3 separate regions of the Homo sapiens genome follow, and all the other regions are linked to region 3. The links are contacts of gene promoters, found by promoter capture Hi-C in blood cells and fetal thymus (Javierre and others, 2016). All regions are on one chromosome and are shown on one strand. Each heading gives the region's core, a stretch centred on a gene start or on the middle of the fragment in contact. The rest is flanking DNA. Distances are from core to core; before and after follow the strand shown. Region 1 has its middle 7.7 kb from the start of POMC. Region 2 overlaps EFR3B (EFR3 homolog B). Region 3 holds the start of DNAJC27 (DnaJ heat shock protein family (Hsp40) member C27).

Region 1 (3,761 bases), core at 389-2,888, 200 kb before region 3:
AGGGGCCACGTTCTGTAAGACTATTGTTTGTTTGTTTTTTAATCACAGAGCTTGACTCTAGATCTGAGCCTAGAATCATAGAATGACAGGCCTGAAACGGACCACATCCTCCCCGCCCCCATTGTTCAAATGAGGGGGCTGAGGCCTGGAGGTGGGGTGGGGGTGGGGGGAGTGACTGACCCAGGTCCCTGTGTCTGCTGGCCACAGAGCTGGGGCTAGAACCCAGGTCACCTCACCCCCTCCCACTGCTTCTTCCTCCACTCTATTTTTTTTTTTTTCTGAGGCAGGGTTTGGCTCTGTTGCCCAGGCTGAAGTGCAGTGGCATGATCATGGCTCACTGCAGCCTCCACCTCCCAGGTTCAAGTGATCCTCCCACCTCAGCCTCCTAAGGAGCTGGGACTACAGGCGTGTGCCACCATGCCCGGCTAATTTTTGTATGTGTGTGTATATACGTGTATATATATATATATATTTGTAGAAATGGGGTTCCACCATATTACCTAGGCCCTTCCTCCACTCTTGACTCTGCTTTGGACCCTGAGGGTGCTGACAACCTGCTCTAGGGAGGGGCATGGACTCTGGCCCTCCCCACTGTGCTCTGCGGCACCCAGACCATGCAGACCTTGGCCCAGGCTGCTGCACTAATGCGCGCATTAGTGGATAAAAGCAGTCTCAAGGGTCTCTTCACGAGGTCCCTTTGGCTGGAATAAAGCAAATTAAAACCCCATTCAAAGGTCAATTGAAATCTCTTTCATTCCAGTTCTCTGCACAAATTGATTCCTCTTTGCCCTTGAGGTCAAACCGAAGGCTGGTGAAGTAGCCCAGCTGCAGTGCTGCATGAGAGAAGCTCAATGAAAAGGCTGAGACTGGGGAGGGCGTGTTGCAGGGGTGAAGCGGGGCAGTGGGATCCGCCTGAATTGTAGGGCCATCTGGGGCACCAGTAACCCTCTCCTCTGCAGTGCTTCAGGCTTCAGGCCCTTTTCTGGAGGCAGCTCCCTGTCTGCCCTGCAAACCACATCAGGCTCCCCTCAGAGGGATGCTTAATTAGGGTTTCTATTGACAATTGTGGGTGCCAAGAGAAAATTTCCTTCCTTCACTCTGCCCTCTGAAGTTTTGTTGAAAATGAACTGCTAATAGACAGATTAATAGGGGAACAAGACATACAAATTAATTTCATGTGTATAGCATAGCAGAATGGTGGGAGAATGATTACCCAGTAACTCAATGAGGTCCAGATGCCTGCAGATATTTCTTGATAGGGGAAGGGAAAATGAGGGGCATAGGAGTAAATGATTTTCTGGGAAAGTGAATGCGCCCGAGGAACAATGGCCTGGGACAAAGTTCTTCTCTGTTCTTTGGGTAGGTGGTGTGAAGGTGAGAAGCAGAAAGTCATTGTGAACGCAGCCTGTCTTATTATGCAGGTAACCCCCCTAGGCTATCTCTTGGAGTTGCCCTCAGAAAAATGCAAGAAAAGTCTGTCTGGAGGCGGTGATGATCCGTCTCTTCTCAGGTGGTTAATCTTTCTTTCCTGGTTATTTGATGAGATTCCTATGAAGGGAGGCTTCAGGCAATTGTATTTCTTTTAGAAAGAAGTTTCCTTAGTCAGATATGGAAATGCCAAAGACAGTACCTTCTGGTGTTTTGGAAAAAATCAGAGAGACAGGGAGTGAGGGGAAGGTCAGGGCGAGATTTTGAAGGTTCTTCAAAGGAACTGAAGCTGCTTCTTTAGTTCCATATTTTGGGGTATAATTTTCTGAGCCCCAGTGCAATTTTAGCGGTAGTTAGGATTTCTTGAAAGTGCTCACGATTCTTGAATGCCCACATAAAGGGGAAGATACTGGGCTATTTCTCATTCAGACACAATGAAGAGGAGGCACTTCCCTGTTTCAGGTTCATGTGTCCTACAGAGGGAGTACGGAGATGTTACTGGAAAGGAATCCCAATCCGGACCCCAAAAGAGGGTCCTTGGATTTCACGCAAAAAAGAATTCTGGGCAAGTCCATAGATTAAAGTGAAAGCAAGTTTATTTATTAGGAAAGTAAAGGAATGAAAGAATGGCTACTCCATAGGCAGAGCGACCTGGAGGGCTGCTGGTTAACTTTTTTTTTTTTTTTCTGAGACAGAGTCTTACTCTGTTGCCCAGGCTGGAGTGCAGTGGCGTGATCTCAGCTCACTGCAACCTCCGTCTCCCAGGCTCAAGCAATTCTCTACCTCAGCCTCCCAAGTAGCTGGGATTACAGGCGTCTGCCACCACGCCCGGCTAATTTTTGTATTTTTAGTAGAGACAGAGTTTCACCATCTTGGACAGGCTGGTCTTGAACTCCTGACCTCGTGATCCACCTGCCACGACCTCCCAAAGTGCTGGGATTACAGGCTTGAGCCACCACGCCTGGCCTGGTTAACTATTTTTATGGTTATTTCTTGATGGTATGCTAAACAAGGGGTGGATTATTTATGTTTCCCCTTTTAGACCATATAGGGTGACTTCCTGACATTGCCATGGCATCTGTAAACTGTCATGGCGCTGGTGGGAGTGTAGCAGTGAGGACCAGAGGTCACTCTCTCAGTGGCCATCTTTGTTTTGGTGGGTTTTGGCCGGCTTCTTTACTGCAAACTGTTTTATCAGCAAGGTCTTTATAACCTGTATCTTGTGCCGACCTCCTATCTCATCCAATGACTTAGAATGCCTAACCATCTGGGAATGCAGCCCAGTAGGTCTCAGCCTCATTTTACCCAGTCCCTATTCAAGATGGAGTTGCTCTGGTTCAAACGCCTCTGACAAAGAGGGTTTTGGAGAATCATGAGTTTCTGCAAACTGAGGGTTAAGAGGGAGAGGGTCTCCCTTCCTCATTCATCCCCTCCTACCCTTGCTGTACAAATATTTTTCAAGCACCAACTCTCTACCAGGCACTGATTATGGGAGCTGTGCCCTTAGAGGCAACCGGCACCAGCTGAGCAGCCCAAGGGCCCCTCTAGACCAAACAACAGCAGGAATGAAGAGGCCCTGGCTGAGCCTAAGGAGTTCCGAGAAGGGACAATTGTTATTCCATGAGACAGGGATGGCAGCTGCCCCCAGCTTGTCCATGGAGACTATGGAGAGAGAATGAAGAAGGGCGTGCCAAGGTGGAGCTGGGGCTCCTCGTTCAGACCCTTAAGGCATGAATTGGTGCTTATTCCAGCAAAGTCCCCCACAGACATGAGGCAGCTTCATCCCTAAGTCTTCTCTTCTCCCAGGGTAATGTCCCCCATTGCCAGTCCCAATGCCTGGAGGCTGACAACGAGGCCACCCTCCTTGTACCTCCTTATCCCCTGCCCCATGTTGGGCTCTGCCACCCTGTCCTTGTTTCTGTCCTCTCAGTCATCAGCCTCCCCTGCACCTGCCCTTGTAACGCACTCACACCCTGGTGACATCTCTTTTCCAATTAAAACCTCAAAGGTGAAAAGCTGAGATGATGAGAGCAGCCCCAGCCCTACGTCTACAGCCACCTGGCACGCCCGCAGCCAGGTGCAGGTGCATCGCCCCGGCCCCAGGAGTCCTCACAAGCAGGGTCTCCCAACAAACCCATCAGCTACCCTGTCCAAAAGACCCTGTGTCTGCTCCTGTCTTACCTCCTTCCCTCCTTTCTTCCCTCCTTCCTTCTTTCATTTATTCCTTCCCTCCTTTCTTCCTTCCCTCCCTCCTTCCTTCTTGTCTTCCTTCCTTCTTTCCTTCCCTCCTCCCTTCTTTTATGTCTTCCTTCCCTCCCTTCCTTGCTTCTTCC
Region 2 (3,283 bases), core at 177-2,676, 180 kb before region 3:
AGCAGGGGGAGTGCTGGGGAGGAGAGAGCCATCCCCATCTCAGCTTCCTTCCCCAGGGGAGTAGAGTCCTTAGCTTCCTCTCACCAACCAAGTCTCCATCCAGCTCCGTCCTCTGGGGAGGACATGCCCTTCACTCAAAACACCAAGTAGGAGCTTCTCAGCCCCCTCCCCCCGGCTTCTCCTGAGAGACACCCCATGATTCTCTGCCCCTGGCTGACACAAGAGAAGACAAAGAGGGCACAGGTGAGATGCTGATTGGTGAGACCTCCCTCAGGGAAGACGAGGAGGAGGTAGGAGGGCCAAGAAGGACCAGAGAGTCTCCACCTTGGCTTAGCCTGGGAGGCGCTGCCATCTAAGGTGATGTTTTCTCAGAGATCACAGCCAGATCTCCATGTGGTCGGGGTGGGCGTGAGGTGAGCCCCTCCTCAGACCCCATCTCCTTGAGGAGCTCAGGCTCTTGGAATTCAGTATACACACAGATCGGGAAACTTCATTTCATAGACGGGGATGGAGTGGTTCTGCGGCTGACCGTAGGCTGCAGTGATGGTTCCTGATGGGCTTGGTGGGGGCCTAGGGGGCAGGAACACATGGGGAGAAAGGCATGAAAAGAGAATTTTAGGATCCCACCCTTGTGCAACCAAACAGAGTAGGTGACTTGGGTTTCTTTTTGCACAGGCACCAGAGACCCCTTCATTCCACAGGTTCCCAGGATTCCACGTTCTACTAGAATCTACAGCTTGGAGTCAAGCTTCCCTGCAGGCTCCGCAGTGACACTGCTGCTTTAGAAAGTGCCAGCCCGGAACACTAGGACTCTTGCGTCTTTCCAGGTTTCATTGAGGCAGGCTCTTTCCCTCTCTGGTCTCTATTTCCTTGTCTAGGGAGGGTTAGAGTTGGTGGCTGACTCCAGCCCAGGGGATAGAGATTACAGTGGTAGAAGGAGGTGGGGAGGAGAGAAGAGAAGACAGGGGTGAGAGGACTCAGGATGAGGAACCCCAATACTGGGCCACGGAGGTCAGGGTCCCCTGCCCAGGGTTGTCACTTACCGGATGGTGATTTCAAAGATCTGATTGAGTTTGCTCTGGAGCAGCGATGCCTAGACACAAACACACGGAAGTGAGCTGGCAGGGGTGGGGGGTCCAGAACCTCTGCCAGCTGGCTCAGGGTGTCCAGAGTATACGCTGGAGGTACAGGGCAGCCACAGCCTTAGGAAGGCAGGCAGAGGTGAACACGCTCCAGCACTCATCCACTGGACCCTGACTGCAGATTCGGATCAGGGAAAGCCACCTACTGAAGGCTGGCTGGGGACAGGACAGAGGCTCAGAATCACCAGGGAGGACGTCAGCAGGCAGTTCTGGAAGGTCCTTTTCCTTAAGATGGGGCAGTAGGGGCTGCTGGGCATGGAGTCGGGAGACTGCACTAGTGCCGGCTCTTTTCTTTTCTTTTTTTTAATTGAGAAGGAGTCTTGCTCTGTTACCCAGGCTGGAGTGCGGTGGCATGACCTCAGCTCACTGCAACCTCTACCTCCTGGGTTCAAGTAAGTCTCCCAACTCAGCCTCCTGAGTAGCTGGGATTACAGGTGCCTGCCACCATGCCCGGCTAATTTTTGTATTTTTAGTAGAGATGGAGTTTTGCTATGTTGGCCAGGCTGGTCTCGAACTCCTGACCTCAGGTGATCTGCCTGCCTCAGCCTCCCAAAGTGCTGGGAGTACAGGCATGAGCCACTGTGCCCAGCCTGTGCCAGCTCTTTTCTAACTTGCAAGGAGCAGCTGTGCAAAACTGGTGGCTTAGAGATGATCTCTGATTACTTCTGGCTCTAATGAGGTTAATGAATGCAGAGAGTGGGACTGCACGTGTTCCGTGACTGGGCCCTGATTCCTAGCTCATAACATGGGCATCCCTCTCAAAGTGGGATGAGAGGTTAGAACAATACAGGCCCAGGAAAATCTATATGTGTTTTATATACACACACACACACACACACACACACACACTTCTATATGAATATTATATATAAAATATTTATACATATTATATTTTGTTAGGAGAATAGGTTATTTGTAGATTTTGAATGTTTACAGTTATGTTTCATTGTTACTAAGCTTGACATTCGGGGCTAATAAATCCCGGCATAGAATCAATTTCAAGATTGTCTGAGCTCCTCCCTCCAGTCTAGGCATGGCTCCTCATTTCTACATGTCCAGCTGCCTCTCTCTCTGATCTCTTTGCCAAGGCCTGGCTGTTCCATCCCCCTGCCAAGGTACCCTGGTTGGAAGAGGGTCCTGCTGCCAACGTTGACCATCTTCCTTTGCCACACACCCCTCCCCCATCACTCTGTAACATGGGGATCATAATGGCACCAACTTCATGGAGTTATCATGAGAATGAAAGCGGCTCATCAATAGAAGAAGCTGTCATCCGCAGTGAGTGCTGTTCACGTGCCTGCTGTCAGGACCACAGTGAGCATGATCTGACTGCCAGACAGGTGCCTCAGCTCAGGACTTCTTCCTTATGTGAGAAGTGTGAGGTCTCAGAGAGACCCAAGACAAACACCCAAGTCTTTTGGTTCATAGGGGAGCAGTGCAGCGCCAGGGTGTTGGGGAAAGCCTGGCAGGGCAACAGCGGAGCTCCCTGCATTGGAATACAAGCCCTGATGTCTGGCAGGGTGGGGGTGGGGGAGGTTGGTGGTCAAAGAGCCAAGATCTCCTAGGAACTTAATCCTGTCCTGGACCCAAATTCAGTCTTGACTTGGCTCCCAGGGACTCGCCCATGTCATGCTTCACTTACCCGGGCCCCGCAGTGTGCAGCAATCTCCTCGAAGGGTGCCTTCTGGAACTTCTCCACCACCTGCCGCCGCCGCTCACGCTCCTGCTCCTCCACTGCTACGCTGTCCACTTCGACACAGAGAGCTGGGTTAGTGCCAGGCCCTGCTCACTGAGGTGAAGGGAGGGACTCCTCCAGGGAGCACTGTCCATGAGCATTGCTTGGGCTCTCCCCTCTTCTGAAGAGTAGGGGACAGTGGCGTGGAGGTGCGGTGCCCTCACTTGGCCCTGGAAGGTGGGACCTCTTCCTGATTCTGCCTGAGGGCTCAGCCTTCTTCCTCATGTAAGAATTTGAGAACTATGTGGGAGGCCCTTTCAGCGGGGCTCTTACAGCCCCAAGTAGCTGCTCTCCCACCGGGACTCTTAAATTGAAGGTCCTGAACAGTTGGTCCTTTGAGTACTCTGTGGGTATTTTGAAAAGGGACATTGAGGCTGGGCACGGTGGCTCACACTTGTAATCCCAG
Region 3 (3,311 bases), core at 199-2,698:
TTAGTCTCAACAGCACCATACTTAATCAATCATAACAGCTGAAGATTTGACATTTTATAATTATTCTTCCACAATACCAGTTACCCTATTACAGGGCCAAAGGTGAACTGTCGAAGAAATTACATGTTTAGTAATTTGATTTATTAAATCATACTGAGAAGTTAGCATGTGGATTCTTTTAAGCTTTAAAACTATCCAAATTCTAACCAGGACTTATATTTCATATTTGTAAATAATTTTAGAAGCTTCAGTGAATTAAGTTATATTATTTGATTATCAAAACAATCCAGAATAAACTTGTCTTAAAAAAAACTTAATGTTTAAAAAACACATTTTAAAATTAAAATGTGGAAAATCTGACTTTACTGTGAAATGTTGAGCCTTTGCTCATTGCCTTCCTGTAATGCACTTCCCTTAAGATGTTTAAAGTTAGGTGAGAAAAGAAGCAATGCTACTTTTGTCTTTGTAATATACAGGGAAATTGGCAGCCATTTTTTTTCAGGGCACTATAAATAATCATTGTCAAGTTCTATTTATCTTCTGTAACTGAAGATATTCACTGAAAAAAAATTACCGTTCCTGTCAGACTGACTTTTATTCAAGCACTGTCACATTGTCAGCTAAAGGGAAGGGGAGAGCAGACGTCGAGGTCACGTTCGAAGCGAACAGCGGGGAGCTGAGGAAACTGACGTCCACAGCTCCAGCCTGGCTTAGCGTTAACACCTGCAGTAGACCAAGCCTTTCTCCCACAGAGGAGTCAACAAATCCATCAGAGATCTGTAATAGGAGGGCCAAGACTAAACACTCTTGCCTTGACTCCAAATAGACAACTCCATTTAAAATAAAAAACAATAGGAACCAGATTCAGAATCGCTTCACGCCTTGCCCAAGGCCCTCTTCCAGAACCAGGGTTCCGACCTCCCCACTTTCCTGGCTTTGGGGTCTGCCTCTCGGGGATCTCGAGCAAGGGGAACAAAATATTGGAGGGGGAAGAGGAGCAGCAGCCCGGCCCATGGAACCGAAAAAGAATCCAGAAAAAAAAAAAAACACTCCCAAACGGACGAGACACTACCAGACCCGCCCTGAAGAGCCAATACATTTCCACCACTCGGCTGCGAAAGCAACAAACGCCTCCCGTCCGGGCGTCCCTGAAAACAAGGACGCGCTCACCTCGAAGGGTAAACCCAGCCGCCCCCCAACGCCGCCTTCCCGTCAGGGGACGAGGCCTTAGAAACTCGGTAACTGCAGTCGCGTCTCCAGGGCCTGCAGATGACGTCAGCAGCCCCGCGCTAGCATCGCGAGACTCCCGTCTCCCTCCCCCGGCTCCCCACGCTCCCAACCGCCCGCGCCTGCTGCCAGGCAGCGGCGGGGATGGCGAGCAGCGGAGGCGAGGCGGTGACGAGAGCAGCGGCTCCGCCATTGGACGAGGAGGCCTGAGGGACGGGCCAGCGGTGCACAAGAAGAGACCGAGGCGGGTGGCCCCGAGAGAGCCAGGGCCATGGAGGCCAACATGCCGAAGCGGAAGGAGCCCGGCAGGTCTCTCCGCATCAAAGTCATCTCCATGGGCAACGCCGAAGTGGGGAAAGTGAGTACAGCGAGCCGGGAGGGGCGGGCCCCAGCGTGGCGGGGCGACGTGTCCATTGGCTGGAAGGGCGGCCACTCAACAGCCTGGGGCCCGGCCTCCTCTCCGCCCCCGAGCAGGCCCGGGTCTCAGCCGAGGGGTGCGGCTCCGCGAACGAAACTCCCCGACCTTTTTGACCTTTCCGTTGCCCCCTCGTCCTCCGACGTCACTCTTCCGGAGATGGTGTCTGGGGTGGCCTCTAAGCCTTGAATGTACCCCCAAAAGAGTAAGAAGGCCTGGGTCCCCATGAGGGGCCGTCGGCCTAGATACCTTGCCCGCGTTCTAGGGGGCCGTCCGGGACCGGGAGATGGAGGATGAAAGTTTAGTTCCCCCAGCCGGGCCTGGGAGCCGGCGGAACGTTATGGGGTGCGTGTGAGAATTTGGGGTTCGCGAAATGGTGCCCGGCAGCCCAGATTCTGCATTCCCGTCACGAGAGAGCGTAACTGACGTTGACGTGTTTCACAGGGGAGGTGCAAGGGATGGCCGGGGTCCGCGCTGTTTTGTTTTGCGTTGTGTTTTATTTTTGGTGGTGTCCCCATATCTGTTAGTTCCACCGCCCTTCTCTCTGCCCCATCTGTGGTTCATCAGCTATAAACTCTCCTTTAGTACGTGGGGAGGGAAGGCCAGAGGTAACCTGAGGCCTTTTCCCTTATGAATTCCAAGACGGCCTCCTCTTCACTCAAATTCTTTCCTTTTGGGCAAGTGGAATCTGTTGGTTAAGAACTTCCCAAGGTCATCAAATCAGTGACCGAGGAAAGATTAGAACCTAAGTCTTCACATTCCCACTGCGGTGCTCTTTCCGTCGTTGTATGCGTTCAAAATCAACTCCGAAAGAGCTGTTAAGGCAGTGCCTAGTCCAGTGCCTGGCACCCAGGAGATGCTCAGTAAATGTTTACTTAGTGTTTTTTATTTCTGTGTAGCATGATCCCGTACTACTTTTGTGTGTATGTGCTAGCATAGTATTCACTGAAAGTCAACATTTTTTTGAACGTCAGCTGTGTACGAGGTGTTTTTTTTTTTCTAGGGACTGGGCACGCTAGCTCAGGCCTGTAATACATCAGCACTTTGGGAGGACGAGGCGGGCGGATCACTTGAGGTCAGGAGTTCAAGACCAGCATAGTGAAATCCTGTCTCTACTAAAAATGCAAAATTAGCCAGGCATGGTGGTGCACGCCTTTAATCCCAGCTACTTGGGAGGCCGAGGCGGGAGAATCGCTTAAGCCGGGGAGGCAGAGGCTGCAGTGAGCCGAGATCACGCCATTGCACTCCAGCCTGGGCGGCAGAGTGAGACGCCGTCTCAAAAAAAAAAAAAAAAAAAAAAGTAATTTTACTGTGCCTAATGATACAACATTAGAAGCAGCTCAGAATGCCCAGTGTCACCACATCTACTTAACATTTTTCTAGTTTTATTAGCCAGTGCAATTAGACAAGAGTAAGAGAATATAAAAATATTAGAAAAGAGAAGGTAAAATTAACATTATTTGCTAATAATACGATTGTTTACCTGGAAACCCAAAGAGAAATAACTGAAAAACTATTAGAAACATTATAAAAATTCAATAAAGCAAAATTATTACCCACAAATTAATAACTTTATTGTGTCCAAATTATATTCAGTTGGAATGTGTAATTGAAAAACAATTTTAATTTACAGTTACAACAAAAATAAAGTTCCTAGGTTTAAACTTAA

Evidence for each region. The method cuts DNA at HindIII sites, captures the fragments that hold promoters and counts their contacts. A CHiCAGO score of 5 or more calls a contact.
Region 1: a contact is called between a fragment that was not itself captured here and the fragment with the promoter of DNAJC27 in region 3, in 1 of 17 cell types (M1 macrophages). The highest score is 5.1, in M1 macrophages.
Region 2: a fragment that was not itself captured here is called in contact with the fragment with the promoter of DNAJC27 in region 3 in 3 of 17 cell types (M1 macrophages, M0 macrophages and endothelial precursors); the score reaches 5.8 in M1 macrophages.

What each region holds. Positions count from the first base shown.
Region 1 is chr2:25,174,422-25,178,182 of GRCh38, reverse strand. No RefSeq gene overlaps it. Among named protein-coding and RNA genes, the nearest start is that of POMC, 7.7 kb to the right of the region's middle. RefSeq lists an enhancer at 1-1,252. The HindIII fragment of the contact is 4,865 bases long and covers 1-3,761 here.
Region 2 is chr2:25,151,522-25,154,804 of GRCh38, reverse strand. EFR3B (EFR3 homolog B) reads right to left here. Exons shown (of 23, transcript NM_014971.2): 21 at 2,785-2,891; 22 at 1,044-1,093; 23 at 1-570. The coding sequence ends at 465. Among named protein-coding and RNA genes, the nearest start is that of POMC, 15 kb to the left of the region's middle. The HindIII fragment of the contact is 1,351 bases long and covers 751-2,101 here.
Region 3 is chr2:24,970,092-24,973,402 of GRCh38, reverse strand. DNAJC27 (DnaJ heat shock protein family (Hsp40) member C27) reads left to right here and starts at 1,448. Exons shown (of 7, transcript NM_016544.3): 1 at 1,448-1,585. The coding sequence starts at 1,499. DNAJC27-AS1 (DNAJC27 antisense RNA 1) reads right to left here and starts at 1,291. Exons shown (of 3, transcript NR_034113.1): 1 at 1,171-1,291. RefSeq lists enhancers at 399-916, 1,128-1,207, 917-1,435, 1,418-1,527, 1,788-1,897 and 2 more and a silencer at 1,658-1,737. The HindIII fragment of the contact is 9,578 bases long and covers 248-3,311 here.